Regions from separate parts of the Homo sapiens genome. Here all the other regions are linked to region 2. The links are contacts of gene promoters, found by promoter capture Hi-C in human tissues and cell types (Jung and others, 2019). All regions are on one chromosome and are shown on one strand. Each heading gives the region's core, a stretch centred on a gene start or on the middle of the fragment in contact. The rest is flanking DNA. Distances are from core to core; before and after follow the strand shown.

The links. The method cuts DNA at HindIII sites, captures the fragments that hold promoters and counts their contacts. A contact is called where the count stands out against the background at its distance.
Region 1: a contact is called between a fragment that was not itself captured here and the fragment with the promoter of GALNT13 in region 2, in 3 of the 25 tissues and cell types used here (mesendoderm cells, neural progenitor cells and stomach).
Region 3: a fragment that was not itself captured here is called in contact with the fragment with the promoter of GALNT13 in region 2 in 3 of the 25 tissues and cell types used here (mesendoderm cells, neural progenitor cells and thymus).
Region 4: a fragment that was not itself captured here is called in contact with the fragment with the promoter of GALNT13 in region 2 in 2 of the 25 tissues and cell types used here (mesendoderm cells and thymus).
Region 5: a fragment that was not itself captured here is called in contact with the fragment with the promoter of GALNT13 in region 2 in 1 of the 25 tissues and cell types used here (mesendoderm cells).
Region 6: a fragment that was not itself captured here is called in contact with the fragment with the promoter of GALNT13 in region 2 in 1 of the 25 tissues and cell types used here (H1 embryonic stem cells).
Region 7: a contact is called between a fragment that was not itself captured here and the fragment with the promoter of GALNT13 in region 2, in 7 of the 25 tissues and cell types used here (H1 embryonic stem cells, dorsolateral prefrontal cortex, hippocampus and 4 more).

What each region holds. Positions count from the first base shown.
Region 1 is chr2:154,279,012-154,281,711 of GRCh38, reverse strand. All of the region lies in intron 8 of GALNT13 (polypeptide N-acetylgalactosaminyltransferase 13), which reads right to left. Among named protein-coding and RNA genes, the nearest start is that of GALNT13-AS1, 180 kb to the left of the region's middle. The HindIII fragment of the contact is 7,348 bases long and covers 1-2,700 here.
Region 2 is chr2:153,870,561-153,873,312 of GRCh38, reverse strand. It overlaps GALNT13 (polypeptide N-acetylgalactosaminyltransferase 13), which reads right to left and starts at 1,391. Exons shown (of 13, transcript NM_052917.4): 1 at 1,010-1,391. The HindIII fragment of the contact is 9,874 bases long and covers 1-2,752 here.
Region 3 is chr2:154,262,908-154,265,676 of GRCh38, reverse strand. The region is part of intron 8 of GALNT13 (polypeptide N-acetylgalactosaminyltransferase 13); the gene reads right to left. Among named protein-coding and RNA genes, the nearest start is that of GALNT13-AS1, 190 kb to the left of the region's middle. The HindIII fragment of the contact is 5,025 bases long and covers 1-2,769 here.
Region 4 is chr2:154,220,402-154,223,101 of GRCh38, reverse strand. All of the region lies in intron 4 of GALNT13 (polypeptide N-acetylgalactosaminyltransferase 13), which reads right to left. Among named protein-coding and RNA genes, the nearest start is that of GALNT13-AS1, 240 kb to the left of the region's middle. The HindIII fragment of the contact is 6,248 bases long and covers 1-2,700 here.
Region 5 is chr2:154,183,475-154,186,177 of GRCh38, reverse strand. All of the region lies in intron 4 of GALNT13 (polypeptide N-acetylgalactosaminyltransferase 13), which reads right to left. Among named protein-coding and RNA genes, the nearest start is that of GALNT13-AS1, 270 kb to the left of the region's middle. The HindIII fragment of the contact is 4,403 bases long and covers 1-2,703 here.
Region 6 is chr2:154,199,763-154,202,462 of GRCh38, reverse strand. The region is part of intron 4 of GALNT13 (polypeptide N-acetylgalactosaminyltransferase 13); the gene reads right to left. Among named protein-coding and RNA genes, the nearest start is that of GALNT13-AS1, 260 kb to the left of the region's middle. The HindIII fragment of the contact is 3,044 bases long and covers 1-2,700 here.
Region 7 is chr2:154,331,849-154,334,548 of GRCh38, reverse strand. The region is part of intron 9 of GALNT13 (polypeptide N-acetylgalactosaminyltransferase 13); the gene reads right to left. Among named protein-coding and RNA genes, the nearest start is that of GALNT13-AS1, 120 kb to the left of the region's middle. The HindIII fragment of the contact is 4,798 bases long and covers 1-2,700 here.

The DNA.
Region 1 (2,700 bases), core at 110-2,609, 410 kb before region 2:
ACCGGTGTGTGTGAGAGGTATGGTGAAGTGGTATTGATCACAGATGGAGCCTTTAATCTCATCTCCCACTCCTCTCAAAACCAGAAACCCATTCCTAGCAGCTCAAAAACACAGTGAAGCTACCCCCAAAATACTCATGCCAACATTTCCTAATGTACAATCTACTGTCACTTTTTGCCTTTCGACAACTTTCTTTGCCTTGGAGTTTTCTGACCTTTAGGATTGATCACCACACTTTATGGCTTTTGTGTTTTCTGGAATCAGAAAAATTGTTACATGTCATTACTCCACATCTTATTAGGGCTGCTGATATTTCAGAAAATCCCAATTGTCCTTTAGATCAACAATACAACACATGGTTCTGATTGTATTGTGGCAAATCTTCCGTTCTCTGTGTAAATAAAATGTATGAATATAACAGGCAAGAAATAAAAAATGTAAGGCCATCTGTCAGATATTAGAAATCCTACATAATATAAGATGGTTCTGCTTAAGAAATTAATGGTTAGGTTTTCACATTATAAACAAGCATTGCTTTTTTATGAGCACAAATTGTTTCAAACAGTAACTCATGAAGAAAGGAAACAAAAATAATATATGATACAGTAACACTTTTTCATCTTTTAATAATTAATAATGTTAAGGTATAATACATCCTGGAGGCTTTGAAAGTATTTTCAGTATATTTAAGTGATTATTAAGACAAAAGTAGAATTATTGGAATTTTTGTTTTCCTCGTTGTATAATTAAGCCTATCAATTACTCTCAACTGTGAAAAAAATTGTATGTGGATGTAAATTTGAAAACTGAATGGAAAATGTGTGTGATTTCTTAAATGATATGTAGGTCAGATACCTTGCATTTTACATTGGTCTTCTCCCATGTCTGATGTGACTGCCTTTCAGATATCAGTAACATCTGCTGCTTCTAGCCACAGAGTGGCTCATGACAGCTGCGTGACGCTGCCCTAGAATTCATGCCAAACCAGTCCCCTTTGAATATCAGTAGACCACCTGGGTACCCAGCTGCAATATATGGCATCTCTTGCTCTTTCACAGATGCCAGCAATACATAAAAAGAACTTGAGTGGAAAAGAAAACCTGGTAGCTCAGAAAAAGTTTTCCTTCAGTCTCTCCATCTGTAAATGTCCACCTCTCCTAATTGGAGTTACAGAATTTCAGTTTCAATTAAATTTCCTGTGTAATTTGTAAAGTGGTCATGTGTGTCCCAAATGTAGAGAATTGTGATAAATTTGAGGAAATAGGACAACCTGTCTCCTCTTGAGAATTTTTTTCTAAGATCCTGGCTGGCATATATTCAGCAAATATATATTAGCCAATTACTTTGTGTGTTGTCAAGCACAATGCTGGGCTCTGGGGCATAGAAAAAGAATAATAATAATACATAGCTCTCTAGTAGCTTACAGGCCAGTCTAGTTGTGAATGTCAAAACTGGGCATATTAAAGTTAAAGTCTAGTCATCAGTTTGCATTTGACAGTGAAATAAATAAATAAACAGTCTCTCATGCTTACAAGAAGGGGACTTGAGAGTTTCTCACCCCCACCATCGTGATAGACAGGATGCCTTTCTCCTGGCTTTTAATCAGCTAGAGTCATTTTGTTTCTAGTCAAGAACCTAAGACATTATTTTTTAAAGCTGTAAGTTTTGCTTCAAATAAGTACTTTCCCTAGGGGGCATATCTAAAATTCTAATGCTGTCAATGGAAAATATGAGTACCTCTCAAAACTCATCTTACAGGCACTTTTTTTTTTGCTATATAGAGTTTGGCAAGAACCAATGTGAAACACCTAAAAATATCCATGTTAATGTCACCTCAAGTACTTATTCAAGAAACCCACAAACATCCTAAGAAGGAAATTAATACTCTACTTTTGACAGTTTTTTATTAAAAAAATTAATTGGTAATAGTCAATGAAGGTTACATTACACTTTAGAAGAGTAAAGAAATAACCATGAAATAGCAACATTTGGCATATTGCTTTGCTAACTTGTCAGTCACAAACAAGGAGAGGGGAGTGCAAAGTTTATTTCTTTAGATATGATGCTTAAAGTCCAGTAAAGATAATTTCCTTGGTACACTAGTACTTCAAAATGTTATTCTTGTGAAATTTAAAAGTTGCTCCATAGAGAACATCAAATGCTCATTCAAATGCTTGTTGAAGAAGCTGTGATTAATCCAAAATTTTCACCTGTTATCAAGCTCCATATAAATTCTATCTTCTCTGAAAATAATCTCTTGCCTCCACTTTCCTTGAGATCAAAAAGAGCTCACCTGATTTTCTACTCATTTCTACCTCGAAATGTCTCAAATATCCTTAGTTTCTTCTTTCCATTTTAGGAAAGAAAGTCAATCCTCTTCTCTGAAGTTCACCCTTGCCCTTGGTCTCCTGAACTCGTATTAAGGTTCCTGACTTGGAGTCAGGAGATGTGAGTTTGATGTTTAGCCCTGCCAATTTCTAGGCACATGACAATTTATCTGAGGCTCAGAACCTTCAACTATAGAATAAGATGATAATAAGAACTCATCTAGAGTGTTCTGGTAAGGACATAGTAAAATAATGAGTGTGAAACTGCACTGTAAACTAAGTGTCACACAGATATTCTTTATTGCTATACCATTTGTCCAATACCTGTAGGTATTTATCTCATCAATTATCCCTTTCTTTTTCTTTTTAGATA
Region 2 (2,752 bases), core at 142-2,641:
GCAAGGGGAGCCTGCTGCGGTGCCCTCCACTCTAACCCCTTGCGCCCCTCCTTCAGGTCCACGACAGCCTGGACAAGGGCAGGCTGTCTCCTCCGCGTCCCCACTGACCCCGCAGGAAAATCTCTGCACCTGGAGATACCCATTAGATGCGCCAGGGCTTGCTCCCCTAACCAAGGCGCTTCGGGATCGCGGGGCTGGTGTTCGGGAAGACGGGGCAGAGAGATGACAGAGGGAGACAGAGATAAGCTGCGAGAAGCAGACACAGAAAGAGAACAAATGTTGCAAAACGGAGAGACAAAAGGAAAGACAGATTAACAGGGACACAGATATCCCAAGAAAGAAAGAGGGAAACAGAATAAGAGAAAAAAACAGATACATGGCCGGAGAGTGTGGACTGAGGGGACCAAGGCTCAGAAAGAGAAACAGAGGCAGAGACACACACGGCGAGAATGAGAGGCAAGAGGACTCTGAAAAAGCGAGGCAAAGGGGGCACTATACGAAGGCAACCGTCGAGGAAGACACCCAAGACCCAGGGAGCGCCTGGTGTCGGGTCGAGTAGAAACGCCCGCAACGCAGCCGGGGCTGCCTGCAGCTGGTGCGAGAAAGTTGTCTGGGCTTGGAGGCCGAGCCACCCCCGCGGAGGAACGTCACCAGAACGCAGAGGGGGCCAGAGCCGCTCCCCCCCCCCCCCCCGCCACCAACAACTCACCGGGGTAGCCAGAAAAGCAGAGCAGAAGGTGGGCGGCGGCAGAAAGTTCCGCGCCACGCGGTCCTCCCGCAACACCTGCAGCCCCGCAAGCGAGCGCACTCGGAGCTCCCGGGAGGCCGCGTCGCCAGGTCCGCCCGCGCCCCTGCCTTTGCCCTGGGACCGGCCCGGGGCGCTCGGCTCCGCGCCCCGGCACTCGCCGCGGGACTTTGCGGCACCTAGCCCCGGCACTCTGGCAGCCCAGAGGGAGCTCGTCCCAGACAATCAAGAGGAAAAGAGGGGAAGCGAGAAAGAGACGGAGACCTGCTATCCTGGCCAACGATCCCGCGAAGAGGGAACGGCGGTCCACACACGGGATTCAGCCTCAGATCAAGCCCAGCAGGCGCCGGCCGGCCGCGCCGAGTGCGGGGCTCGCCGAGTCCGCGCTCACCTGGAACCCGCGCCGGCCCGCGAGCGCCGCGCGCAGCCCCGGCTCCCGCCCGCGCCTCTCTCTTCACACTTGCCCGCGAGCAGAGGGAGCCGGCTCCAGCCTCGGCCAGCCCCAGAGAGGGGCCTTCATAGCGCAGCGGCGGGCTGAAGGGCTCCTCGAGCGCGGCCAGAGCGGACGCTGAGGCCGAGGAGGCGCCCAGAGCGAGCGAGGGCTGCTAGCACGTTGTCACCTCAGCAGAGCCGCCGCCGCCTGGTCACTTCTCCCCGGCCCCCGCCCCCCTCCCACCCCAGCCCGCCGCCTCCCGGTCCCTCCTCCTCGCGTGGTCCCTCCTCCTCTCGTAGCCCCAGCCTGGAGGCCTCTCACTGGGCTAGTATCATTTACGTAACCAGCACCCCCAGCCCTCCTCCCTCCCTGCTCCCGCTCCTCCCCGGGCTGGGGCGGTGCGCACCGAGCGCGCTCCAGCTGCTTCTGGAGCTGGCGCTTCTGCGATGTGCGCAAGTCCCGCGATACTTGGCAGGCACGGCCCCCAAGAGCAACCCTGGGGTCAGCTCCTCTCGCCGGAGGGCGCCTCGCGACCCCTGGCCGCTTTGGGGCCCCACAACGCCAAAGCCGGCCTGCGTGCACCGCGTTCGCCCAATGCACCAGGGAGCCTCTTAGAGGGGAGCTGGAGGATCAGAGACTGCCCTCGGGGAAAGCGCCGGCAACCCCACCCTTGCCGTCGGCTCTCCAGCCGAGAGATGCTGCGGGGTACTTGACGCTTCGGCGCCCTCCGCAGAAAGGACGGAGGTTGGCCTCTTGTTGGTTACAGTATCTACACCCTGGCAGGATCCTAGTGTTCTGGTTGGCGGTGACTACTGCCACCGAACGCACTGTAAGAGTACTGGAAACACAGAGCGCTTCCTTGTGGCTCTCAAATTTTTATGAAGAGGTAAAGAAAAAAGTGGGGCTTTGAATTCCTTTCTCAGGCAAGTAGGTATGATATTAAACACACACCCACTCCGAAGTACCTGGACGTATGAATGTCTCAGTTAATGTGTTGTACCAATACCCCCATGGTACTGAGTTTAAATACATGTAAAGATTTTAGAACAGTGCCTGGCACAAGGCAGAAACCTAAGACGCAGACATTATTAGCGTCTCAAAGACTTGGGACCTGTCCCCCACTGCCATGGGAGAGGAACTTTTCTAGGAAATTGGGATTGCCGAGTTCAAGTGCCTGCTTGGCAATTTATTCACTGTGGCTCTTGGCTAGTTTTGGCCCTTCGGGTGTCAGTTGTCTTGTTTGTAATAAGGGCTGACAGGGGTCCTTGCTTCTCACAGTGTCACTTCACACATCTTATAGGATGTTTTTGGCAGAATTGGGGGAGGATATAACGACTACATAAAAATATTAAACAGCCACGTTTGACAAACATATGATACTATTAATCATAATCTAGTATGTCAATGCCATTCTTGATTATACTCATGAAAGGCAATTTCCAGAGATATTATCTTTATATCTTTTCGTGAGTCAAGTATCATTTAAATTTCTATGTTAATAACTGTATTAATGTCTCCTCCTACATTGTCCATCCTGCCCTACCGTCAATTATGGAGCATTTACCAGAGATGCT
Region 3 (2,769 bases), core at 254-2,753, 390 kb before region 2:
CCCAGGCTGGAGTGCAATGGTGCAGTCTTGGCTCACTGCAACCTCTCCCTCTTGGGTTCAAGCGATTCTCCTGTTTCAGCCTCCCAAGTAGCTGGGATTACAGGTGCCCGCCACCACACCCGGTTAATTTTTGTATTTTTAGTAGAGACAGGGTTTCATCATGTTGGCTAGGCTGTTCTCCAACTCCTGACCTCAGGTGATCTGCCCTCCTCGGCCTCACAAAGTGTTGGGATTACAGGCATGAGCCACTGAGCCTGGCCCGAACTCTTCTGATTTCTACCCAAAACATTTGGTAGAGTTCACCAGTTAGGTTATCTGGCCATTGAGTTTCCTTTGTAAAAATTATTTTTAAAGTATTAAAAATTATAAATTTTTAGAATAAATTTCATTTATTTACTAGATACAGGGCTGTTTGGTCTATTTTTTCTTTCTGTGAGCTTTGATAATTTGTATCTTTTAATGAAGTTGTCCATTTTATCTAAGTTGTCAAGTTTATTGGCATAATGAGAATGATAATGTTCCATTCCAATCCTTTTAGCCATCTGTAGAATACATGGTGGTCATGCCACCTTTCTGATTTCCAAAATTGATAATTTGTGTCATCTCTCTATTTTTCCCATATTTGGCTAAAATATCATCTATTTTATTGATCTCAAGGAAACAAATTTTGGTTTCATTGCTTTTCCATATATATATATTTTTTTTTATCATATAGGTATCATATATGTGGAATATTATATATATTCCTTTTATATTTCATTTATTTCTGCTGTTATCTTTATTATTTCCTTTTTCTTAGATACTTTGGCATAAAAACTCTTCTTTTTCTAGTTTCTGAAGGTGGAAGCTAAGGTCATTGATTTTACCTCTTTTTTTTTTTTTTCTTTTCTGATATAGACATTTAGTGCTATAAATAATTCCTAAGTTTGCTTTAGTGTCACTACACATTTTGATGTGCTATGTTTTCATTTTCATTACATTCCAAATAGTGGTAATTTTACTTGTTCTTTAATCTGTGGGTTTTGTTTGTTTGTTTGTTTTTGACAGAGTCTCGCTCTGTTGTCCAGACGGGAGTGCAGTGTCATGATCTCGGCTCACTGCAACCTCTGCCTCCTGGGTTCAAGCGATTCTTCTACCTCAGCCTCTCGAGTTGCTGGGATTACAGGAGTCCACCACCATGCCCAGCTAATTTTTTTTTTTTTTTTTTTTTGTATTTTTAGTAAGGACAGAGTTTCACCATGTTGGCTAGGCTGGTCTTGAACTCCTAACCTCAGGTGATCTGCCTGCTCGATCTCTCAAAGTGCTGGGATTACAGGCATGAGCCACCACATCCAGACTATCCATGGGTTTTTAAGAAGTATGTTATGTAGTTTCTCAATATTTCCTCTACCCCTTACCTCATGAATCAATCTGTCTGGAGGATACAGGTACTATTGACTTTCCTGAGTCATCACTGGGCAATGAGACCTCTAACCTTTTCTGAAGGTTCTTTCCTCAGACTTGGATTGTTTCCTCACACACTTGTGAAGACACAGCTGAATACTCCCACAGAAACCTCTGTATATCTCTTCAATGCTCTGCCCAGGACTCCATTACTCTGTTCACCAAATTCCAGCGGGCTTGGTCTCCCCAAACACTCAGCTTCATCTCCTCAAGTCATGGAGTCTGTCAGTATCTAGCCCTTTTATCACTAAGGCCTAGAAACTTTCACAAGGCAGTAAGCCGAGGCAATTGTAAGGCTTTCCTTGTTTGTTTCCCATCTCTCAGGGTGACTGCTGTTCAATGTCTTGAAAGTGTTATTTCATGTATTTTTGTCCATTTTTTAATTTATTCAGGTGAATGACGAGGAGAATGGTAAATCTAGTACTTGTTACTCCAAGTCTAGATGATACATACTTTTAAAAATTAACAACTGTTTCATTCCAACTGATTTATGAGTGTAGAAAAATGTTTTCCACCCTAGATTCTTAGATGTCAGTAATTAACTCCAATGATGTTGTGGAAGTATAAAAAGTATTTTTTTGTGTGTGGTTTTTCTTTTCCTTTTTAAAATTTAATATATTTTTTGAGCAGGGGAGCCTTAGAACTACATCTCAACTAACACTTAGTATAATTATACTTTAATGTATATTGCATTTCTGGGTTTAAATGACTTTTTCTCTACATTCTCTCTTGTGATTAACCATGATCAAAGCCAAATTATTAAAGGTAAGATTGTTTTTAGGTGATTCTCAGGAATGTTATGACTTGCCCAGAGTTGCACAGCTTATAACAATCACCACAACAGCTGCCATGAATGACACACTATGTGCTGAGTGGAGTACTCAGCACAATATACATAATATCATTTAATCTTTCTCTAAAAATGAGGAAAGTACTGTTATCTTTCTGTTTTAGAGATGGACACACTAAAGCTTAGAATATGTGCTATCTTACCTAAGCTTACACAGATGGTAAGTGCCAGAGCTGGGTGTTGAATGCAGGCTATCTGAATCCCAGTCCATACTTGTAACCATTCATGGCTGTGAGACAGATTTCTGTGTCCTTTGCTGTCATCAAGCTCCTTTATTTATTTTTTCCCATGCTCTGAGTTGATTGGATAGTGGCAGTTTTCTTCATTTTAGAATGGGCAAAATGATCTGTACTCTTGGGAATGCTGCTCCCCATGATATTGCTTATAAAAGACAAGGACTTTTGGTGGTGATGCTTGTTGGTTGATACTTATCCTGAAACACGGTTATTATTTAAAGATAGAGGATACTTTTTGAT
Region 4 (2,700 bases), core at 3-2,502, 350 kb before region 2:
AAGAAATCCCAGATTCTATCTTCAAATAATTTAACCAAGAGCTATAATTTTTGGTTTAATAAATAGAAGTTACATGTTTAAATCAAGTATTCCTGTCTTGCTACACGTGAACTCTGAACTAGAGCTGGCATTTTTTTCTTAATTTATTCTACTTCATTATTTATTTAAACAGCATAGCTTATATTGTCCTTAAATCCTTTTGAAATAAAGCAGAATTAAAAAAGAAAAAGTTTGTCTCTCTTTTGTTGACACCAATCACAGGTACCACTTCAATGATGCTTCTCTTTCGAATCCAACTTACTCCATGAACTCATGCATAAATCCTCAACCCGTCCCTGATTGAGGAGGTAACATATGGGGAAAGTGCATCACAAACAGGGAAAATAATGTGACAAAAGTATTATAAATAGCTAGAGGCTGTGCTTTGACCAGAATTCAAGTCTCTGAATTCTCCAATCACTGACCTTGCCTCTTCAGGGTGTCTAGGAGCTACTGTAGGGGAAATGTACCCATAAAATGCAAAGGTTCTACACAGTTCACCTTTTATGAAACAAATAACAGATTAAAAACAAAAGGAATAGGCCAGGTCAAAATTCATTCTGTGTTTTATCAACAATAATTTTAGGGATTAAAATAATATAAGGTACTTTGTTTTATTTTCTGTTAAGGTCTATTCAGTTTTCTTATAAAAGCCTCTTTATCTTTCATGATATTGGCTGATCAGAATATAGTTTCAATGAAAATAAAATAGTACTCATGAGGAAAAGTAGGGAAACATTTCAAAGATCTGCCTCATTGGCTAATAATTTGTATTATTAATTGTGGAAGATATTATAACTTTCTTTTAGGAATTTAAATTTTATCTAGATTATTTGATTTCAGTAAGACTTCTTACATAGGATCTGTAGACAAAATACCCAATGCTTTCTTTCCTAAGGAGAGTGGATCAACCTGTAAATTGTGCAAAAAGAGCAGGCAGAAATGGAACAATGGTATGTAAAGAATAAATGGTGAGAAAAAAATATTTTTTAAAAGGTGCATTTTCTGAAATGCTAGAAAAATGCACCCACCCATAGCATTTTAAGTTTTTCCTAATATAACAAATAGAGCTGGAATTCAAGCAACTATAAAAGAAATGAAAACTATTTTGGAGAAATGTTGGGGTGGTTCCACCATTTCTCTTTGAGAATTACAGTGGTGTGGTGTCTTGGGAAAAAGGAAAGCCTACTCTGTGCCCCATTTCAAACATTAATGAACGGTAAAACAAATGAATTTTCATAATAAGATAAACAAGTAATGTTTTCATTGAGGAAAAGAACAAACTTCATTTGAATGTCAATTGCTGTGCTCTAAAAGAGAATTTCCATGTCAGAAGGAAGATTTCAAGAGTAATGAATAGGGTTAGTATCTGAACTCTAACTCCTTTTTCCATATCCTGCAGAAAGGAACAAGTTGTCTTTGGAATCTGTTACTAGAAGCCTCAAATAGAATTGCCTTTCATTCTCTAAGGAGAACCTACTGCACTTGTGATTGTCAAATTATTACAAATTCAAGATCACTGCTGTCTTAGATCTCAAATGTTACATTAGTCTATAATTACAGATTCTAATTTTAGGGAACAAAATCAACCTCAAGCCAACAGTCAAAAGAAATATCTACCTGCAAAACAAAACAATGTAATTAGTTGAATTACTAAGTCAAGGAGTTATTCAAATAAGAATTCTAATAATAATAGATGCTGGCTTTGAACACAGTGGTGAGGATCATTCACTTTAAAAATTATTATTGTCTAATACAATATACATGATATAACAATGAAAAATAAACATTACTATTTCTATTAATAATTATTCGTATGATAAGGAAAGCAGGCTCTCATTTTTGCATTTTTCTGTTTGCATCAACAAGTACTGTAACAGCCTGTATTCAAGAAAGCTAAGTTAATTGACTGACAATACTAATTTGTGCATTTTATTACTAGAATATTCTGGCAGGTGGAAAGAATTGGTTAATATATTGGTAAGTGGTAAAAACCTATTAGAAGCTTTTGGAGTCCAGAGAAAATGATTCCTTTATCTTTCTAAGCCCCAGTGCACTATGTGCTTAAAATGTGAGTAAACAAATTAATATAATTTAATTTGGTCTGTCTATAAAATGCCATTATTTCTTTGCGCTCATCTAAAACAAAAAGGTGACAGTCTGGAGAATTAGGACAAGTATTTGGGCCAGAAACTAAAGCACAAGTGTCTTATTTAAACTTTACAAACTTCTGCAATCTTTCATTAATTAAATGTTATAAACAATGGGCCTTCTTAGCATAATGTCTTTAAAAACTAGGATTTAATAAGTATCACCTACTCCCTTGATTGTTATAAGATGATTCACTGTTGACTACTTTTATGACAACTTGCTTTATTACTGGCATTGCAAAATAATAAACCCATGATAAAAAAAATTTGTACAAGATCAAGATTTTAACAGCTTCTATCCCAAGTTCATAATATAAATATGTAAGTTAAAATAACTTTTCTTTTCTTCAGAAATATGTGTGTATGCATATGTGCACATGTATTTTTAAGATTTGAAGTGAAAATGAACAGAAAGTCAGGAAATTAATTTAAGAGCTTAAGACCTAGTAGAACATGACTTTAGAATTGCTGAGAATGAATATACTGAAAAGCAGGCGATTAGTTCTTTGGT
Region 5 (2,703 bases), core at 143-2,642, 310 kb before region 2:
ACAGTAGTAGATTTTTAAAAATAATAAAAATTCAAGATTTTAAACAAAAATTACAATTTAAGAATACTTGTATCATTCACCTTGAGCTTGAAAGCATTACAATGTGTAAAAAAAATTCTCTGATGAGATTGGTGATGCTATTAGCCAATGTAATTTTATGACATAAAACTACCAACTAGTGTAATATGAAATATGCTATATTTGGAAGACTGTAATAATTAAGTAAAAAATATTTTCCAAATGAACAGTAAATAATATTACAAAGTTTAGCATGAGTGAAAATATCCATTTGAACTACAAGCTAGGCAATACATTTTAATACGGCAGAGTATAGAAAGTACCTTGATATGGAGTCAGATTCTTCATTGTAGGTAATCATTTAGAAATAATCATTTAGAAACATAACTTATAGATTACTAAATAAAATCAGGAAAACAATAAGTGAGCAATATGAGAAGTTCAACAAGGAGATAAAAATTATAAAAAAATAGAAATTCTGAAACTAAAAAATATAATGTCTGAACTGAAAAAGTCAATGGAGAACTTTAACAGCAGATTTAATCAAATATAAGAATCAGAGAACACAAAGACAGATAATTTAAAATTATCCAGTCAAAGAAACAAAAAGTAAAAACAATAAAAAAGTGAAGAAAACCTATAGGGCTTATGGTACACTATCAAGTGAATTAATATGTATACTATGAGAATCTCGGAAGGGATAGAGAAAGAGAAAGGTGTAGAAAGCTTATTTAAATAATTCATGACAAAAAACGTTTCAAATACAAATAGGGAAATGAACATCTAGGTTGATAAAGCCCAAAGAATTCCAATTAGTTGAGAATAAAGACATCTTCACTGAAACATATGATAATCAAATTGTCAAAAGTCAGAGACAAAGAGAGAATTTTGAAAGCAGTAATAGAAAAGCAATTTATCAGAAACAAAGGAAACTTCATGAAATTATCTGTAAATTTTTCAGCCAACACTCTGCATGTCAGGTCAAAGTGAAATGACATATTCAAAGTGCTTAAAGAAAATAACTGCCCACTAGGAAATTGATAACCACTAAAGCTGTCAAATAAAAAGATAATTATTTTCTTCAACAAACAAAATCTAAGGAGGTTATCATCACTGGACCTGCCTTACTAGAAATGCTAAAGAAAGTTCTTCTAGTTAAAATGAAAAGATACTAATTACCAACATCAAAACATATGCAGGCATAAAACTCACTGGCAAAGGTAAGTATACCATCAAATTAAGAAAATTCTAATACTCTAATGGTGGTATATAAATCACTTTTAATTCTAATATAAAAGTTAAGATTAAAGTATTACAAATAACTAGAGCTGCAATAACTTTTTAAATGATATATTATATGAAAAAATGTAAAGGTTTGGCACTGTCCTTGCAGTAATAAGTGAGTTATTGCTCTATAAGTTCTGGTGTGAGCTGGTTGTTAAAAAGGGCCTGGCACTTCTACTCCCTACTCTTGTTTTCTCTCTTGCCATACATCTTATATAGCCTGCATAATCATGAGCCAAATAAATCCCTTTTCTTTACAAATTACCCAGCCTCAGGTATTCTTAGCAACACTAAACAGACTAAGACACATGATAATCACAAAGAGGAAACTGTAAATGATACAGAATAGGAAACAAAGTATATCACTATGAAAAGAAAAAAATCACAAAGGAAGACAGCAAGATAGGAAAAAAATAACAAAGGAATTAAAAAACAGAAAAGCAATTAACATGACAATAATAAATCCTTCTCAATCAATAATTACTTCAAGTATAAAGAAGTTAAATTATTCAATCAAAACACAGAGAGTCACTGAATGGATTAAAAACAGTATCCAGGAGACTCATTTTATTCTTAAGTACACACAAAGGTTGAAAGCAAAGGGTAAAACAGCATATTCTATGAGTTACAAAAAGTGAGAAGAGGCAGGTATATGTATATAAAAAATAGATTATAGGTCAAAACCTGTCACAATTGAGATAAAGAAGGTTATTCTATAATAATCTATGGGTAAATTCGTATAATATATTTTACCCATGTATTATTATAAATTTATAAGTTCAAATATATTATAAATTTATAAATTCAAATAATATATGGGTTAATTCATGATAAGGTTATAACAAGTGAGAATCTCTTGAGCCTGGGACTTTGAGGCCAGCCTTGGCAACACAGCAAGACCCTGTGGAGTCTATAACAATTAATGTCTATATTAAGAATAAAGAAAAATTTCAAATAAACTTAACTTTCCATTTCAAAGAACTAGAAAAAGAATACTAATCCCCAAATTAGCAGAAGAAAAAACATAGTAAAGATAGTAATGATAATAGCAGAAATAAATGAAATAGATTAGAAAAACAATCAAAAGAAAAATGAAACTAAGAATTTTTTTTTTTGAAAAGAGAATCAAAATTGACAAGTTTTTTTCAATTTGTTTGTTTGTTTGAGACAGGGTCTCACTCTGTTGCCGAGGCTGGAGTGCAGTGGCATGATCATGGCTCACTGCAGCCTTTACTTCCTGGGCTCAAGTGATTCTCCTGCCTCAGTCCCCCAAGTATCTGGGACTAGAGGCATGCACTACCATACCCAGCTAATGTTTTTATTTTTTTGTAGAGGTGGGGTTTTGCTATGTTGCCCAGGCTTGTCTTGAACTTCCAGGCTCAAGCAATCAACCGCCTCAGC
Region 6 (2,700 bases), core at 71-2,570, 330 kb before region 2:
AGTGTCCACTTAAGAATATGTGCCTTAAAAAATGCTACCTCCATTCATGTTTCTACTAATCCAAAAGTAGAAGTGTGATCTCAAGGACGCTAAGTGCAGCAGCATTCCCTGAAAAATAGAACTTCATCAGGGAACATACAGTACTTACTATATGTAATTAAAATACATATATCTTTCAAAATCTAGATCAAATATTACCTTACAGGGGTTTTCCTGAATACCCCAATCTAGCCCCTTCCCATGAAAGCAAAAGTTTTTATCTTTTCCACAGTAGACACTCCATTAACATCTTACATATGTCTGCATTATTCTTCTATAATATAGTTATTTTTCTCCCCTGCTAGACAGAGAGCAACCTTGCCTGCAGCCAGGCACAAAGTAGGTGTTTCACAAAAGTATTTTGGATTGAATTAAATCAAAGGGTAAGCAGTATAAATGCCAGAAAGTTATCTTCATCAATGTGTCTTAGTTGTAAAAATGTAATTGTCAAGGGACAAATTGTAAACAGCAATAATAAAATTAGGTGACTCTTGCTGAGTCTTGAAGCATCAAGGAAGAATCAAAGATGGTGCTGTCTGTCAATAATAGTCACTCTAATGGAACAAGGACTTAGGTGAAGGGCAAGCACTGCCAGACACATATCTATCTTTTGGGACATACTTGCTCAATTAGATGCCTGTTCTGTAAGTAAAAAGCAAAGAATTCCCAAACACACATGCTTATGGCAAAAACATTTAGAATTAACTCTTACCATTATCAAAACAAAATGAAGATAAAGGAAGCCTTTGAAAAGAGGAGATAACCAAGGATACTTTTTAAAAAATGTGATCTAAAGAACAACATTTTATGGTCAGTGGTTTTGGTAGCCTCTGTATGTTTAAACTGCAAAATTGTCTAAACCTGTTTGAAACAGTTATCTAAGGGGCCCAATCGCATGACACTTTAAATAAAGTAAGAAGGTGATGCTATGCATGTGTGTCATCGTTACTAATGTCTTCTTGCCATGATTGCTAATAGGTATAAGACAGTATTCAATGCCATGCTTCACAAAACAGGTAAGAGATGCGTTGGTCTCAGAGTTTCTCCCTAAATTGAATTTCTGTCAAGAAAGCAACAGCAACAAATCAAACAAAGCTTCTATGACATGCCAGGATTTCAAAGTGTAACTAGACAGAATTATTCTCTCATGCTGTCATGAATACACATTCATGGAAGACTTTCTATTGTCTTTATTAACTACTAACAGTATAATTTCATCACTCTGCAGTCATTCAGATTACATTATTAATACACATGACAACTCTTTGTAGGCTGACCACAATTTCTTCAGTTGGCTAGCTGAACTTGATAATAGCTCTTACAAACTAATACAAAGCATATTATATATACCACTTGATGTGACTACACACACATATACATATAAAGAGACTTCAAATGTAGGAACTGATAATATTCCAAAAGTATTTTCTTAAAGTTCTTTTAATTGTTGTAAAATAGAATTGCATTTTCTTGGAAAAACAAAATTATATAAGATATACATTTTCTAGGCTAGTTCCCAAAGCCTCTTCAGTTCAAAATAAATCTTAATAGATGAACTGTCTCATCATGTATGTTAGTCAAGTTTTACAGCTTAATCTCTGCCATAGTCAGAATGTGTCCTCTCCAAAATTCAGGTGTTAAAATTTAATGGCCAATGTGATAGTAGCAAGAGGTGAGGTGTGTAAGAGGTGATCAGGTATGAGGGCTCCTCCCTTGTGAATGGGATTAAGGCTCTGATAAAAGAGACTTCACACAATACTTGGCCCTCTTGCCCTTCTACCTTCTGCCATGTGAGGACATAGCATTCCTCTCTTCCAGATAATGCAGCAACAAGCTGCCATCTTGAAAGTGGAGACCAGGACCTTCACAAGACATTGAACCTGACAGCACCTTGATCTTCAACTTCCCAAGTTCCAAAGGTGAGAAATAAATTTCTGTTATTTATAAATTAGTCTATGATATTTTGTTATAGCTTTACAAACAGACTAAGACAATCTTCATGGGAAATGCATTAAAAGTAATGTAGTGGCATTTCTTCTATTCCTCTTGCCATACTCTTACCAGACCACAGTTCATATCTTTGGTGGGATATTCCCCTTAATCACCACCCCATCTCCATAGTTAATGCAGTAATTCTATTGAAATTCTTTTCTTATCTCGAAAGAGATAAGAAAAATTATGCATTACATAAGTTAAATGACAATCACACTTAGAGGACTGACTTGAATATGCAAAGACAAAATATAATTTTATGTTTACTACCCAATATATCTTCATGACTCCTAAAATGAAATCTTACAGGGATAACAATTTGTAGAAACTTTAATGCCTTAATATTTAAGAATTAATCCCCCCATCCCTCACAAAAAATAAATAAATTACTAGTGGAAGTTATTTTACTTATGTTGAAGGTATGATTTCTGAGGAGTCTATATGGAACATGCAACTGTGCATATCTCTGGAATTCTTGCTCGGTAATTATAAAATCAAGGATATAATGCATCTCTGAATAATTTATTATGCTTTCAATCCAAACCTTGATTATTATAAGTCTTAGAAAATTCAAGAAAGAGTTCAGATAAAAGATTACTTACCCTAGGGCCAAAAAATTCTGTATTTAGTATCCAAAAGAGACACATTCCAAAATTAGATTTTTAGAAA
Region 7 (2,700 bases), core at 23-2,522, 460 kb before region 2:
CCCACAAAACTGTTTTGATGTAGTGGAGGTTAGATGATCAGAACTAAAAACCCACATCAGCTATTCAACATTGCTCTCTCCATCATATTTACAGCTTAAAAATTTCTGTAGTATTGATAATACTTTCAGTTCCAGTTTAGTTTAAAGGCTGTCTATTGATTTCATAGATATAAATGAGTTATCTTGGTGAATGCTATGTGAATTTATAATGAATTTACAGGGTGTCGAATGCTATTGCATCCTATAGTTTTTAATAAGGCAGGTAGAAAGAAATTCTCAATGTAATAGTAAAATGGGATTTCAAAAGTTTGAGATTAGCCTAAGGAATCATATCTCTAACATTAGTTGAATGAACAAAGTATTGTATTTCTCTGTTAAGGCAAAGAAAATCTTATGGGTATTTTCTAGAATGTCAATTGTAAAGGAGATAGAATGGAATGTTTTAACATCATATAAAAGAGAAGAGAAAAAAAGTCATCCATGAGGTAACATAACAGAGTTCAAAAGGAATATAAACGACTGCCTGTGTGATTGACAACTTCAACATAATGAACTCAGCTGTCTGTGAAGCTTTGCAAGTTACGACAATTGTAGAAATAGGCCAGTTTGACATTATCTTCCACGATTAGTATCCAAGCAAAGACACTGGATTATTTTCATTTGTTAAAAACAAAAGCCTAGTCTCAAATGAAGCACGAGCTGCCACTTGCAGATTTAGTAGAACTACTACATTTTCTCTTAACAGGGAGAAATAGTCATCATTTTAATTTGTCTAGGAGGAGGGATAAGCTGCCAACTCCCTTTACAATAGCAAGAGCTGTGCATTTATAATTGCTATTAGTCATTGCCCAACTGATATTTTGAAACATTTTCACCATTTTTATAAACAGGTATAAAGAATTCATTGCTATTTCAAGTGAATTAAAAATTAATATAAAATAGGGGAAAGACAAGTCATTGAAAATGTTTTACACAATTGAAGATGTGCAATTTGTTTTTGCTTTCATCAATTATTTTGTTCAACAAATGGCGAATGAGAAACATCATTATTTCAAACCCAATAATGTAATTGAGTTTCCTACTTTCAAAGAATAAAGCTTTCTAGATAAAAGAGTTATACATGTTCTTTAACGCAGGACTAGAATCTCTGGCTACAGAATCACTTTGTATAATCAATAAAATATTTAACTATTTTAATAATTCATATTTCTTTTATAAAACATGTCTCTACTTAGAAAAACATTTATGTATTTTTTACATATATGTATACATTTATATATAGTTTCGAATACAACTATAACTCCAATATCAGTGATAATCACTGAAAATTCTTGTATTTATTTTCTAACCTCTAGGTGTCCTTAGGCTCTACTGAGTCACAGGTGCAGGGCTAAGGAGGTCCTGGCAATACAGAAAGAAAAAGATGGGGCTCCTAGAAATCATTCCTTAATTGGGGGGAAGGTAGGCTCATCAAAAGGTCATTCTAAAGCCATGTGACATTTGAAAACCAAGGTAACTCTACAGAAGCATTCTCCAGAAACACTGAGAATGAAGTGATTAATTCTACTTAGGAAAAATTAGGAAAAGGAGATATGATGTGTAGGGAAGCTTCCAAGAGGCATACACCTATGGGTTTTTTGTGTTTCTACGACAAAACATTCAGATAACTGAAAGTAGTGAAAATATGTACATGAGAAGATAGATTTCTTATTCTTCATTCATTTGCTTTTATCACATAAGAAAACTGATGGCTTTTCAGCATTTGCCTTTAGGATTGAGTTAAATATCATTTCATAACTTTGCTCAATCAGTAACATTTCTCTGGGAAAGAGGAGGCACTGGCCACAGCTACTGGCAAGTTTGTAAACAGGGCAACCAGCTCACATAGCCGGAAGACAGATTCATGTTCTGGAGAGATTTGTTGCTGGGTGAAAAACTAGAAGAGGTAGGTGTCTTATAAAGAGGTTCCTCAACTTGTGGTTTCAGCATTCAGTGTGTAGACAAATGGGTCCCATAAAGAATATTATTTTTTTAATTTCATTTTAAACCATGCAGGAGGGCTTTATAGACCACCCATCATGTCTTTTTAACATCTTACCTGGTTAGATACTCAATTTTTTTTTGTGGGATAGCAAGGGGCAGAATCAGTTCCCATTTTACAGATGTTGCTGAGGAGACTCACTGAGATTCAAGAATTTATCAAAACTAGGGAACTCTTGTAAAAACCAAGCTTTGAACATTCTGGCCTCAAGGTCAGCATTTATGTTTGTTATTTTTAGGCTCAGCAGAGGTAGAAAACACAATCTCTCTGTCTCTTATAAAACACATGTACTCAAGGACAACCTCAATTCTTTTCTCCTCCAGTTTTTCCTTTTTACTTTTTTGAGATAAAAGACAAGGTCATAAGGGTATATAAAGATACAGAGGCTAAGTGTGTCTGGATTGCTATCCATGTATGAGAAGCATGGTATTTTGAATGCCAGAGCTAATAGCTTCAAATGTTTTCTGTAAATTATTCAACCCAGTACAACAGCATTAAAGCCTGAAATAGATCACGTGGAGACAGCACATTGCTATTCAAATTATTCAAACCAGTCAAATGAATTTATTCCTTAATAAAGACTGCCTTGGGCATTTGCTTCCAGAGCTCTTGTGTCTTTCACAAATAACACATTTACAGTTTTCTATTTCTGTAGCAAG